Linked DNA regions of Homo sapiens: regions 1, 2 and 4 are each linked to region 3. The links are contacts of gene promoters, found by promoter capture Hi-C in human tissues and cell types (Jung and others, 2019). All regions are on one chromosome and are shown on one strand. The core of a region is centred on a gene start or on the middle of the fragment in contact, and the rest is flanking DNA. Distances in the headings are between cores, read along the strand shown. Region 1 overlaps LOC105372112 (a long non-coding RNA gene). Region 2 has its middle 71 kb from the start of ACAA2. Region 3 holds the start of LIPG (lipase G, endothelial type). Region 4 overlaps ACAA2 (acetyl-CoA acyltransferase 2).

Region 1 (3,177 bases), core at 134-2,633, 140 kb after region 3:
AGAAGGACTTTTGCTTTATCTATATTGTTTGAATATTTTATAATTAACTTTCCAAGATATCTGTGAATTTTTCTTTTATGTACTTTTTCAATTTTTTTTTTGCTTCTGAATGACAAATACGCCATATTTTTCAGTTTTCTTGTATTTTTTTAAAAAATCTTTGTAATTTTTTATTTTTGGTGGAGATGGAGTTTCACCATGTTGGCCAGGCTGGTCTCAAACTCCTGGCCTTAAGTGATCCACCTGCCTCAGCCCTGCAAAGTGCTGGGATTACAGGCATGAGCCACCACATCTGGCCAATTATAGTAAAACATATATAACATAAAAATTTACCATCTGAACCATTTCTTTTCTTTTTTTTTTTTTTTTCTGAAACGGAGTCTGACTCTGCCACCCAGGCTGGAGTGCAGTGGCACGATATTGGCTCGCTGCAACCTCCATCTCCCAGGTTCAAGTGATTCTCCTGCCTCAGCCTCCCAAGTAGCTGGGATTATAGGTGCCCGCCACCACGCCTGGCTAATTTTTGTATTTTTAGTAGAGAGGGGGTTTCACCATGTTGGCTAGGCTGGTCTCGAACTCCTGACCTCAGATGATCTGCCCACCTCAGCCTCCCAAAGTGGGATCACAGGCATGAACCACCGCGCCCAGCCCATCTGAACCATTTCTAAGTGAACAGTTCAGTGGCATTAAGTACATTCACAATGTTGTGCTATTATCACCACTACCCATCTCTAGAGCATTTTCATCTTCCCAAACTGAAGTTCTGTATCCATTAAACACTAACTCCTCATTCCCCTTTCTCCCACCAGCCCCCTGGCAACCACCGTTCTGTTTTCTGCCTCTAGGAATGTGACTGCTCTAGGTATCTCATGTAAGTGGAATCATAGTATTTGTCCTTTTGTGTCTCGCTTACTTCACTTAATAAAGTGTTTTCAAGGTTCATCCATGTCGTAGCATGTGCCAGAATTTCCTTCTTTTTGAAGGCTGAATAATATTCCACTGTGTGGATATTCCACACTTTGTTTATACCCACCTCTATTGATGGGCATTTGGGTTGTTTCCACCTTTGGCTATTGTGAATAATGCTGCTATGAACCACGGTGTGCAAATAGCTGTTTGAGTCCCGTTTCCGATTTTTTGGAGGAACATACCCAGAAGTGGGATTGCTGATCATATGGTAATCTATGTTAAATTTTTTTGAGGAGCCAGAATACTAGCTCCCACAGTAGCTGCTCCATTTTGCATACCCACCAGCAATACACTAGGGCCCCAATTTTCCCACATCTTCGTCAACACTTGTTATTTTCTGTTTCTTTGGTTACAGCCATCCTAATGGATGTGAGGTGGTACCTTATTGTGGCTTCGATTTGCATTTCCCTAGCAATTAATGATGGTGAGCATATTTCATGTGGATCCGTAAATTTTTAGTAATATTTAAAAGATTTCAGCAGGCCAGGCACGGTGGCTCACGCCTGTAATTCCAGCACTTTGGGAGGCCGAGGCAGGTGGATCACGAGGTCAGGAGATCGATACCATCCTGGCTAACACGATGAAACCCCATCTCTACTAAAAATACAAAAAATAATTTAGCCAGGTGTGGTGGTGTGCACTTGTAGTCCCAGCTACTTGGGAGGCTGAGGCAGGAGAATTGCTTGAACCCGGGAGGTAAAGGTTGCAGTGAGCCGAGATCGTGCCGCTGCACTCCAGTCTGGGTGACAGAGCGAGGCTTCATTTCAAAAAAAAAAAAAAAAAAGATTTCAGCAATAGAGAAAAATGTAATGGAATATCTGGAAAACCTTTATACATCCATCTTACCTCTTGAAATGTTTCTGGTTTTCAACAAACATGATGTTTTGTGCCTTCCACTGTGTGGAGTGGCTCTAGATGGTGGTGTCATCAATAGCCACCCGCTCATCTCAGACTGCTTGACCTTGAAGCAGTTTCTGGAAATGCCCCTGAACAGCTGTTGATGAATCCACATGGTTTAAAGAGACTTGCTAAAGGTGGGTGGGTGGTCTGGCTGTCTTTACTTTATTGGGTTCCTTGTTTACAGAGTGAGCCCATAGTTTTTTCTCAATGCCCACTCGTCCCCATCTCTAGTCAGCTCTAGTAGCTGCTTTCTGATCCAGAGAGGAGACATTTGTAAGATGCAGCCCAATTCAGAGTGAACATTGAGACTTCTCAGCTAAAATTTGCAATCTCTCAGACTAAAAAGCTCAAGCCATTTTGGTGCTATGACTCATTCTTGAAATAACACATTTTTACATATTTTGATCAAACTGGAATTCAAGCTGAATATTGCTCACCTGTAACACCCTTTCCTATTTTACTGTTTTCAAAGCCTAGCTCAGCCTCCTGGGGTAAAGTGGTGTTTATTAAAGATAAACATTTAAGTTCCCCTTTGGGTTCCCAGAAGGCACAGATCATTATGGTGGGGGGTTCCTGGCTGGGGAAAGTGCCCTCAGAGAGCAACTTACTCACAATCTTACTATGGTTGTAATTCAATTAAAGAAGCTTCCAGGGCCCACCTTTGTGGGCTTTTACCCTGCTATTTCTTCTGTCATCTTTTTTTTTTCTGGCAACTCCCAACATTTATTTGGTGTAATAATGAAAATGATACAAAAAAAAAATCAGGGATTGTTTGACACTTTTTTCCTAAATGGAAACCTTCACCGAAAGAGGATAAAAGATTTACAGGTAAGTTCTTTCTCCAAAATTAGTAAATGACCTCAGTTTTAATTCTTACTGAGGTTACTAAGTAGCTATCAGTATATTATTTTCAACTTGTGTCTAGGAGGGAAATTTTTATGTAGCGGGAGGTAAGGCATTAGCAGAGAAATCAAGTTGTCAGTTGGGAGCCAGCCAGCTTCTGCCCTGCAGTTACTGCTAGAGCTTCACTGAGCTGCATATACACAGGCCTGTTTCACAGTGGGATTGAGGAGAGGCTGAATGAATGGCCCTTTGCTAAGCTGGTGGGCACTGCAAGCTCTAGCGTTTACTACCCACCAGAAAGGCAAAAGGTGAGGTCTTTATGGGAAAATCTGATGCCCCCAGCTCCTATGATGTCTGTAGCCCAGAATCAAGTCACCCAGCACTTGGTATAATGTTGAGGTAAGTGGCCTAGTGAACTGCCATCTTTTCTGTCTGGCAAGTGGTCACCCAGGCTGGAGTGCAGTG
Region 2 (2,966 bases), core at 166-2,665, 180 kb after region 3:
CCCTCAAGTAGGCCCTGGTGTCTGTCATTCCTTTCTTTGTGTCATATGTACTCAGCGTTTAGCTTCTACTTATAAGTGAGAAATGTGGCATTTGGTTTTCTGTTCCTGTGTAAATTTGCTTAGGGTGATGGCGTCCAGCTCCATCCATGTTGCTGCAAAGGGCATGATTTCATTCTTTTTTATAGCTGCATAGTATTCCATGGTGTAAGTGTATCACATTTTCTTCATCCAGTCTACCACTGGGCATTTAGGTTGATTCCATATCTTTGCTATTGTGAGTGCTGTTGTGATGAACATTCACATGCATATGTCTTTATGGTAGAATGATTTATATTCATTTGGGTGTATATCCAATAATGGGGTTGCTGAGTTGAATGGTAATTCTGTTTTAAGTTCTTTGAGGAATTGCCACACTACTTTCCACAATGGCTGAACTAATTTACATTCCCACTAGGAGTGTATAAGCGTTCCCTTTTCTCCACAACTTCACCAGCATCTGTTATTTTTTTGCATTGTGGGTTTTTTAAAATGTGAGTTTTCGGCCAGGCACAATGGCTTACGCCTGTAATCCCAGCACTTTGGGAGGCCAAGGTGGGCAGATCACCTGAGGTCAGGAGTTCGAGATCAGCCTGGCCGACATGGCAAAACCCCATCTCTACTAAAAACACAAAAAGAATTAGCTGGGTGTCGTGGCACATGCCTGTAATCCCAGCTACTAGGGAGGCTGAGGCAGGAGAATCACTTGAACCCAGGAAGCGGAGGTTGCGGTGAGCTGAGATCACACCACTGCACTCCAGCCTGGGCGACAGAGTGCTATGTCTAAAAAAAAAAAAAAAAAAAAGTGAGTTTCCGTAGAGATGAGATTGATACACGCTGGGAAAGATAAGAGATTAACATTTAGATACACGTCTATCCTGCCCTCTTCTTCTTTCTGGTTTCGATGCTTAAATTATTTCAACTTTTCAGAGTTTGCAACATTTCATTCTGCATCTGAAACCATCTCTCTCCTGGGTGTTAATAGCATTCCTGCATCCACCTGGATTCCATGCTCCCTACCAATCCCACTTCTACAGCTTCAGAATGGCAGGACTCTCTTTTGATGCAACCTTTAGTTAACAAGATCTCACCATCAAGTAGATTTTTCACAAGGGCTAACAGATGTTGTATTTTCTGAGTCCCTTCATGTCTGAAAATGTGAGCTCTTGCCTTTATACCTAAGCTCCAGCTTGGCTGGGTAGAATCCACTTGGGTCATATTCTGTTTTTCTTCTGGACATTTCTCCTTTGCTCTGGCACTGATTGCTGCTGGAAAGACATCTGAAACCCACCTGATTTTTCTCCTTGTAAGTGAATTATTTTTGTCCTGAATGTGAAAAAAAAATTTTAGTTTAATGGTTTAACCAGAATGTGTCTGAAGGTTTACTGTTAGAGATTTTTCCTAATAAGTGGTATGTGCTTTCAGTCTTGCAGTTTCAGTCTTTATTCTAATTCCTATGAGTTCACTGTTGTTAAAGTAAATTAAAATGACGAGAGACCAGCCTGAAGAATCTCTGACTAGACAAAAGCAGTCAGGCCTCATAAGTCATCTTAACTTTGCTTAATTTGCAAACTTTAGCAAAACTTAACTTTAGCCATTTCTGGTAAATGCTTATGTTAGAAAGAAAACCTCAGCCAATTATTGGCAGACAAAAAGTTTCTAATTATATAACTAGGGACTTTCGAATGGGATGAATCAAATAAGATAATTTTGCAACTGTCACCAATCAAATAATTTCTTTATCTTTTTTCCGTATTCAACCTAAAAATATTTGCCTCTGACGCTATGTCATTAGAACATTGAACATTTTTTTGGTCTGGCATACCCCAATTCATGAATTGCTTTTTCCTCAAATAAACTCTTTAAAATGTAATTGTGTCTCCAATTTTTCTTTTACACTATTCAAACACAGATCTCTCATCCTTTTGGAATGTATTCTGGTGTAGGGTCTAAGGGATGGGTCCAGTGTCTTTTTCCTGATGATATCCAGATGTTTTCTGGGCAGTTTGAGTTTGAGGTGCTGATGAAGCATGCAGGTGAGGCTGCGTTCAGGGCCACTGCGAATTCAGGGCTGGAGATGGGTCAGGGACCAACAGACAGATCTGAGGGCCATAGTAGGGACATCTAAACAAGGAGACAGACGGGATTGCGAAAGAAGGACAAGTCAGGACCAACATGCGTGGGGCCAAGTCCAAAACCTTGGGAGGCCTGTACATTTAGGAATACAAAAGAGGGAAAGAGATTGAAGAGGATGAAGGCTAAGAAAAGACCACTGGGTTGGGTCTTCAGAGATTGGCCTCCAAGGGAGATAAGCATCAGAGCCTGGCAGTGAAGGGCAAGGGAAGGAGCAGATGATGACACCAGTGAGGCAGCTCTTCCCGGAGTGGGATGACAGGAGAGGGGAAGGTGCAGCTGTGCAGACTTCACAGGAGAAAGGGGTGTTTCTATTAGGCAGAGTGAGGCTTTAGCAATTTAGTGGACCTGTGAAAGGGGTCAGGGTGGGGAGAGGTGGAAGATAAAGAGAAGGAAAACCACAACAATGATGGAAAGGTGGGCAGGTAGGAGATAGGGTCACAAGGCAGGATGCAAGTAACAGAGCTTCTATCTGAACCGTCTTAGGAAAAAGAGATCATTCACTGACTGGGCACGGTGGCTCACACCTCCGAGCACTTTGGGAGGCCAAAGCAGAATTGCTTGAGCCCAGGAGTTCAAGACCAGCCTGGGCAATATGGTGATACCCCTGTCTTTATAAAAAAAATTTTTTTTTAATTAGCCAGGTGTGGTGGTAGGCACCTGTGGTCCTAGCCACTTGGGATGCTGAGGTGGGAGACTCACTTAAGCCCAGGAGTTCGAGGCTGCAGTGAGCCATGTTCATGCCATTGTACTCTAGCCTCGGTAACAGAGCGATACCCTGTCTCAAATTATAGTAG
Region 3 (2,947 bases), core at 390-2,889:
GAGACCTGGTTGTCTTGAGACTTTCTTCAAATCTGCAGCCTGTCCCCATGACTCAGTTTTCCCATCTGTAAAATGGAGATAACATTAGACCTATGTCTGTATAGTTTCCTCATGAAGAGAGAGACAGAGTGGGAACAACATATCCGGGGGTGATATTTACCATCGCACACAGACCATTGAGTTCTATACTAAAAAACTAAAGCCCGCCTGAGTCTTGTTAATGAATGATAGCACACGGGAGGGACAAAGCGTGCTCTGCTGGCAGCTGGAGTAACAAAAGTAATGAGGCGAGGTCGGAACAGGATCTGCTGGCTCCGGCTCGGTTTCCTCGCACAGGTCTCTCCAGCTGGATCCTCGACGCTAGGGAGGAAGGGGCGCGGGACTGCTGTGGGGGTTTTCCCTCCCCAGGCAGGGGCAGGACCTGTTCCGGGCGACTGCAGGGTTAAGGGTATCGTCTTAAAGAGCCGGATCCTCCCGGCTGGAGCGAGGCTGGATGGCGGGACGCAGCCTCTCAGCCTCTCGTACCCGCCCTGCGTCCGCAGTGGTTGTTGGCGCAGCCGCCCCGTCGGTGTTCCGGGCTCAGTCCCCGCTCCCCAGCGCCAGACGCAGACTCCGGGCCAAGTTCTCCCTCCGCTCGCTGCTTTCTGCCGCAGGACCCGGATCAATAAAGGGAAGGAGAGCCGGGAGGAAATGATGGAGAACAGAGAGAAAGGAGATGCTTGATTTCACTCGCCAAGGAGTGAGTGCTCATCGGCAGACACTGGGCTCTGGCCACGCGTCTTAGACTCCAAATCTCGGCTCACTGGTCCCTTTGAGGAGGTCGCCTGGTGTTCCCGTAGCCCTCCACCCCACCGTAGGAGAGCGCCTGCCACGAGCTCCGCGCCTCGCTAAGTGCTTTGCTACGTGAACTCTTAGTTTTCCCAACATCCCTAAGCCGCCGATACATTATCACCCACGTATTGCGGACGAGAGAACCGCCTCGGAGAAGCTGGCTGGCTCGCTTGGAGTTTTGCAGCTAGTGGCGGAGCGAGCATTCCGAGCAGGTACTGTGCGATCCTCCAGCGCCGGCCGCAGCTCACAGCCCCTTAGCTCCGCCGGGTTATTGTGCGGCCGCGCCTTCTGCACCTGTTGCGGCCCTCGCTAGGCGGGAAGGGAGGGAGAAGAGGAGGACAAAGGGGATGACCAGGTGGCTCTCCCCCGACGGACTCCCGGCCCAGGGAGCGGATAGACCACTCCCAGAGAGAGTGTGGCTTTGAGCCTTGGAGAGGATGCTCTCCTTCTCCAGGGATCGCCTCCCCAGCGGACGCAGAGTTTCAGGGAAATGTCCGCCTCCGCCACTTGGGATGGCAGTGGGGAGAGGAGGATCTGGGTGTCCGGAGGAGGGCAGTGGGAGAAAGCTGGAGCTGCTGGAGTCGCAGCTGCCTGCGGAGCGGGCCCGGGAGGAAGCGGGGCCGAGCGTGCGGCGTCCACGCGGTGAGTGTGCAGCGCTTTCATTCAAACTTTCTCCAGTCTCGGTTCCGGCGTCAGCAAGGTGTGACCAATCAGAGCCCAGAGACGGGAATAAATTATGCAAATCACCATCTGGCGATGGGTCAGATGACTCCCATACTTTTAAAAACTACCTCTATAGGAGCGTGACAGCAGCGAGTCCTTGCCTCCCGGCGGCTCAGGACGAGGGCAGATCTCGTTCTGGGGCAAGCCGTTGACACTCGCTCCCTGCCACCGCCCGGGCTCCGTGCCGCCAAGTTTTCATTTTCCACCTTCTCTGCCTCCAGTCCCCCAGCCCCTGGCCGAGAGAAGGGTCTTACCGGCCGGGATTGCTGGAAACACCAAGAGGTGGTTTTTGTTTTTTAAAACTTCTGTTTCTTGGGAGGGGGTGTGGCGGGGCAGGATGAGCAACTCCGTTCCTCTGCTCTGTTTCTGGAGCCTCTGCTATTGCTTTGCTGCGGGGAGCCCCGTACCTTTTGGTCCAGAGGGACGGCTGGAAGGTAACGTGAATTTGTTTTTATTCCCCCCAGCCACTTCTCTGTGCTGGGTCCCCTCTGTCTTGCTGATTCTTCAAACCCTCCTTGTTCCTATGAAATTCTTCCTTTCCCACTGCGCTGCCCATTCTCTCCTCCAATCCACCTTGGAGTCCACCTGTCTCTCTGCTGGTCTGATGGGGGCATTCCCGGCAAGTCATGCAAAAGGCAAAGGCTGGCAGGGTGCGCTGGCTCTTGCCAGCCCTCCCACCCCCACCTCCTTCCCTTATACGGCTCCCTAAGCCAGTGCTGGTGCTGTCCAGCCAGCCGAGCGGCCTGGCAGCAGCTCTGAAACCTTGTCCTCATGCCTGAACCTGGAGGTTTGAGAGGCAAGAAGGCTGTCAGAGCTGTGTCTCCTGGAGCTGCCTTTTAATCTTGGTGTAGGTGTCTTGAAAGTTCAGGTGGCAGGGTAGCTGGCTTTGGTTTGATTCGTGCTTGCAGGGAGCGTCTGGTGGGTCGCTTGTGCTTAGAAGCTGCCGGGCCTATTCCCCCAGGTTGCCAGCCTTTTCCTCTTCAACACTCTTGTGCTCCCCCGACTCTTCCTCTTCCCACTCCTCCTCCCTTTCCTCCTCCTGGCTTTTAGCTTCTCTTCCTCTTGGGTTCTGTATGGCAGCCTTTGCCAGTGGAGGCAGCTTGCCCTGGGGGAGCCAGAGTCAGTCAGCTCTGGGGGAGTCAGAATCAGAGTGAGAACTAAGTCAGCTGATAAGCAGTGGAGGGCTGGGGAGCCTCTAAACTGAACCCCATCATCTCATCTTCTAGTCTGCTGAGGTTGTGCCAAATGGTCTGTGTGGGCTTGTGTATGTGTGGGAGGGTTACTGTGAATGAATGGAAAGCCTTGCTTTACTCAACATGTTTCCAACTCTGGTGCTAACTAGAAGCATTGCCTAGGGCAGGTCTCATCTCTGGCTCCTCACCTGTAAAATGCT
Region 4 (3,143 bases), core at 25-2,524, 250 kb after region 3:
CTGAAGAACAGATGAAAAAAAAAAGATTAAAAAACAAAGCCAGAACCTCAAGGTCTGACAAAGGAGGAAAGGCAATTCACTGGAAAAAGGATCGTCTTTCCAACAAACAGTGCTGGAACAACAAAACATCTATATACCAAACAAAATGAATCCAGGCAAAAATGCGTCAACTTTGATAGTGGGCTGGGCACTGTGGCTCAAGCCTATAATCTCAGCTACTCAAGAGGCTGAGGTGGGAGGACTGTGTCAGGATAGGAGTTTGAAACCAGCCTAGGCAACATAGCGAGATCCCCATCTCTAAAAAATGTAAAAAATTAGTTGGGCATAGTGGCATGTGCCTGTAGTCCCAGCTATTCAGGAGGCTGAGTTCAAGGCTACCGTGGGCTACAATCAAGTCACTGCACTCCAGCCTGGGTGACAGAGTGAGATCTCTTATCTAAAAAAACAGAAACAAAAACAAAGAGATCATAGACTTAAATATAAAATGCAAAACTCTTAGAACATACGAGAAAAATCTACATGGCTTTGGGTTTGGTGATAATTTTTTAGATCTAACACCAAAAGCAGGATCCATGAAGGGAAAACTTAGGTTGGACTTCATTAAAATAGAAAACTTCTGGCTGTGTGCAGTGGCTCATGCCTATAATCCCAGCATTTTGGAAGGCCAAGGTGGGAGGACTGCTTGAGCCCAGGAGTTTGAGACCAGCCTGGGAGACATGATGGGACCCTGTCTCTATAAAAAATTAAGAAATCAGCCAAGCATGGTGGTGTGTGCTTGTGGTCCTAGCCACTTGGGAGGCTGAGGCAAGGGGACTGCTAGAGCCCAGGAGGTCAAGGCTACAGTGGCCGTGTTCACACCACTGTACTCCAGCCTGGGTGACAGAGCGGGACCCTCTAAAAACAAATGAATAAATAACCTCTGCTCTGCAAAAGATGCTGTTAAGAGAATGAAAAGACAAGCGACAGACTAGGAGAAAATATTTATAAAAACACCTAACTGATAAGGGACTGGTATCCAAAACATACAAAGTGTTCTTACAGCTCAGCAATTAAAAAAAAAAAAAAAAACCCATGCAACCCAATTTAAAAATGGGCAAAAGATCTGAACAGATACCTTACTAAAGAAGATATACAGATGGCAAATAAGCATATGAAAAGATGCTCAACATTGTATGTCATTAGGGAATTGCAAATTAAAACAATGAGATACTACTACACAACTATTAGTCTTTTGGATTTTAGAAAGGCTAAAATCCCAAACACTGACAACACCAAACACTGGTGAGGATGTGGAACAACAGAAATTCATTCACTGCTGGTGGGAATGCAAATGGTATGGCCAGCTTGGAAGACACTTTGGCAGTTTCTTATAAAACTAAACACACCTAACCATATGTATGATACAGCAATCAGGTTCCTTGTATTTACCTAAATGATTTGAAAACTTATGTTCAAACAAAAACCTGCAAACAAATGTTTATTCCTAATTGTTAAAACTTGAAGGCAACCACGATGTCCTATCATGGGAACCCGCCCCCCAATATTTCAGTGTAGGTTCTATTTTCCTTAAGTGTCGGCCGGTCTGAGAAACAGAAAGAGTACAAAGAGAGGAATTTTACAGCTGGGCCGCCGGGGGTGACATCACATATCGGTAGGTCCAGGATGCCCACCTGAACCACAAAACCAGCAGGTTTTTATTAAGGATTTCAAAAGGGGAGCAGGTGTACGAACAGGGAGTAGGTCACAAAGATCATATGCTTCAAAGGGCAAAAAGGAGAACAAAGATCACATGCTTCTGAGGCCAATAAAGATCACAAGGCAAAGGACAAAGCAAAGATCACAAGGCAAAGGGCAAAATCAAAAACTCCTGATAAGGGCCTATGTTCAGCTGTGCACATATTGTCTTGATAAACATCTTAAACAACAGAAAACAGTGTTCAATAGCAGAGAACTGGTCTGACCTCAAATTTACCAAGAAGCGTTTTTTCCCCACCCTAATAAGCCTGAGGGTACTGCAGGAGACCAGGGGGTATTTCAGTCCTTATCTCAACCGCATAAGACAGACACTCCCAGAGCGGCCATTTATAGACCTCCCCCCAGGAATACAATTCTTTTCCTAGGGTCTTAACATTCCTTGCTAGGAAAAGAATTTAGTGATATCTCTCCTACTTGCATATCCGTTTATAGGCTCTCTGCAAGAAGAAAAATATGGCTCCTACTGCCCGACCCCGCAGGCAGTAAAGACCTTATGGTTATCTTCCCTTGTTCCCTAAAAATCGCTGTTATTCTGTTCAAGGTGCACTGATTTCATATTGCTCAAACACACGTTTTACAATCAATTTGTACAGTTAACACAATCATCACAGTGGACCTGAGGTGACGTACATCCTCAGCTTACGAAGATAACGGGATTAAGAGATTAAAGTAAGACAGGCGTTAAGAGTATTATTAGGGAAGTGATAAATGTCCATGAAATCTTCACAATTTATGTTCCTCTGCCACAGCTCTAGCCGGTCCCTCCATTCAGGGTCCCTGACTTCCCACAACAATGTCCTTCAACAGGTGAATGGATAAACAAACTGTGGTGCAGCCATACAATGGAATATTATTCAGCAATAAAAAGAAGTGAGCTATCAAGCCATAAAAGGAAGGAATCTTAAATGCATGTCGCTAAGTGAAAGAAGCCAGTCTGGAAAGGCCATATACTGTATGATTCCAACTACATGATATCTGGAAAAGGCAAAGCTATGGAGACAGTAAAAAGATCAGTGCTTGCCAGGGGTTCAGAGACAGGGATAAATAAGTGAATCACAGATGATGTTTAGGGTGGTGAAATTAATCTGCATGACACTATAATACTGACATCGGTCATTTGCACATTTGTCAAAACCCATAGAACTATACAATACAATGAATGAACTTGAATGCAAAATATGAACTTCAGTGAATAATAATATATCAATGTTAGCTCATCAATTGTAACAAATGTACCACACTAATGCAAAATGTTAATAATAGGGGAAACGGACCGGGCAAGGGAGCACATGGTAATACTCCGTACTTTCTGCTCAATTTTTTTGTAAAACCTAAATCTGCTCAAAAACAAAGTTTGTAAATTTTTTCTTTAAAGTCGGATAGTAAAA

The links. Contacts are between HindIII fragments. The study calls those that stand out against the background at their distance.
Region 1: a contact is called between a fragment that was not itself captured here and the fragment with the promoter of LIPG in region 3, in 1 of the 25 tissues and cell types used here (heart left ventricle).
Region 2: a fragment that was not itself captured here is called in contact with the fragment with the promoter of LIPG in region 3 in 6 of the 25 tissues and cell types used here (H1 embryonic stem cells, IMR-90 fibroblasts, adrenal gland and 3 more).
Region 4: a fragment that was not itself captured here is called in contact with the fragment with the promoter of LIPG in region 3 in 3 of the 25 tissues and cell types used here (dorsolateral prefrontal cortex, hippocampus and liver).

The regions. Positions count from the first base shown.
Region 1 is chr18:49,704,937-49,708,113 of GRCh38, forward strand. All of the region lies in intron 3 of LOC105372112 (a long non-coding RNA gene), which reads left to right. Among named protein-coding and RNA genes, the nearest start is that of ACAA2, 110 kb to the right of the region's middle. The HindIII fragment of the contact is 6,279 bases long and covers 1-3,177 here.
Region 2 is chr18:49,741,228-49,744,193 of GRCh38, forward strand. No RefSeq gene overlaps it. Among named protein-coding and RNA genes, the nearest start is that of ACAA2, 71 kb to the right of the region's middle. The HindIII fragment of the contact is 9,868 bases long and covers 1-2,966 here.
Region 3 is chr18:49,560,418-49,563,364 of GRCh38, forward strand. It overlaps LIPG (lipase G, endothelial type), which reads left to right and starts at 1,640. Exons shown (of 10, transcript NM_006033.4): 1 at 1,640-1,988. The coding sequence starts at 1,892. RefSeq lists an enhancer at 1,847-2,347. The HindIII fragment of the contact is 10,319 bases long and covers 1-2,947 here.
Region 4 is chr18:49,806,932-49,810,074 of GRCh38, forward strand. The region is part of intron 1 of ACAA2 (acetyl-CoA acyltransferase 2); the gene reads right to left. Among named protein-coding and RNA genes, the nearest start is that of ACAA2, 5.0 kb to the right of the region's middle. The HindIII fragment of the contact is 8,087 bases long and covers 1-3,143 here.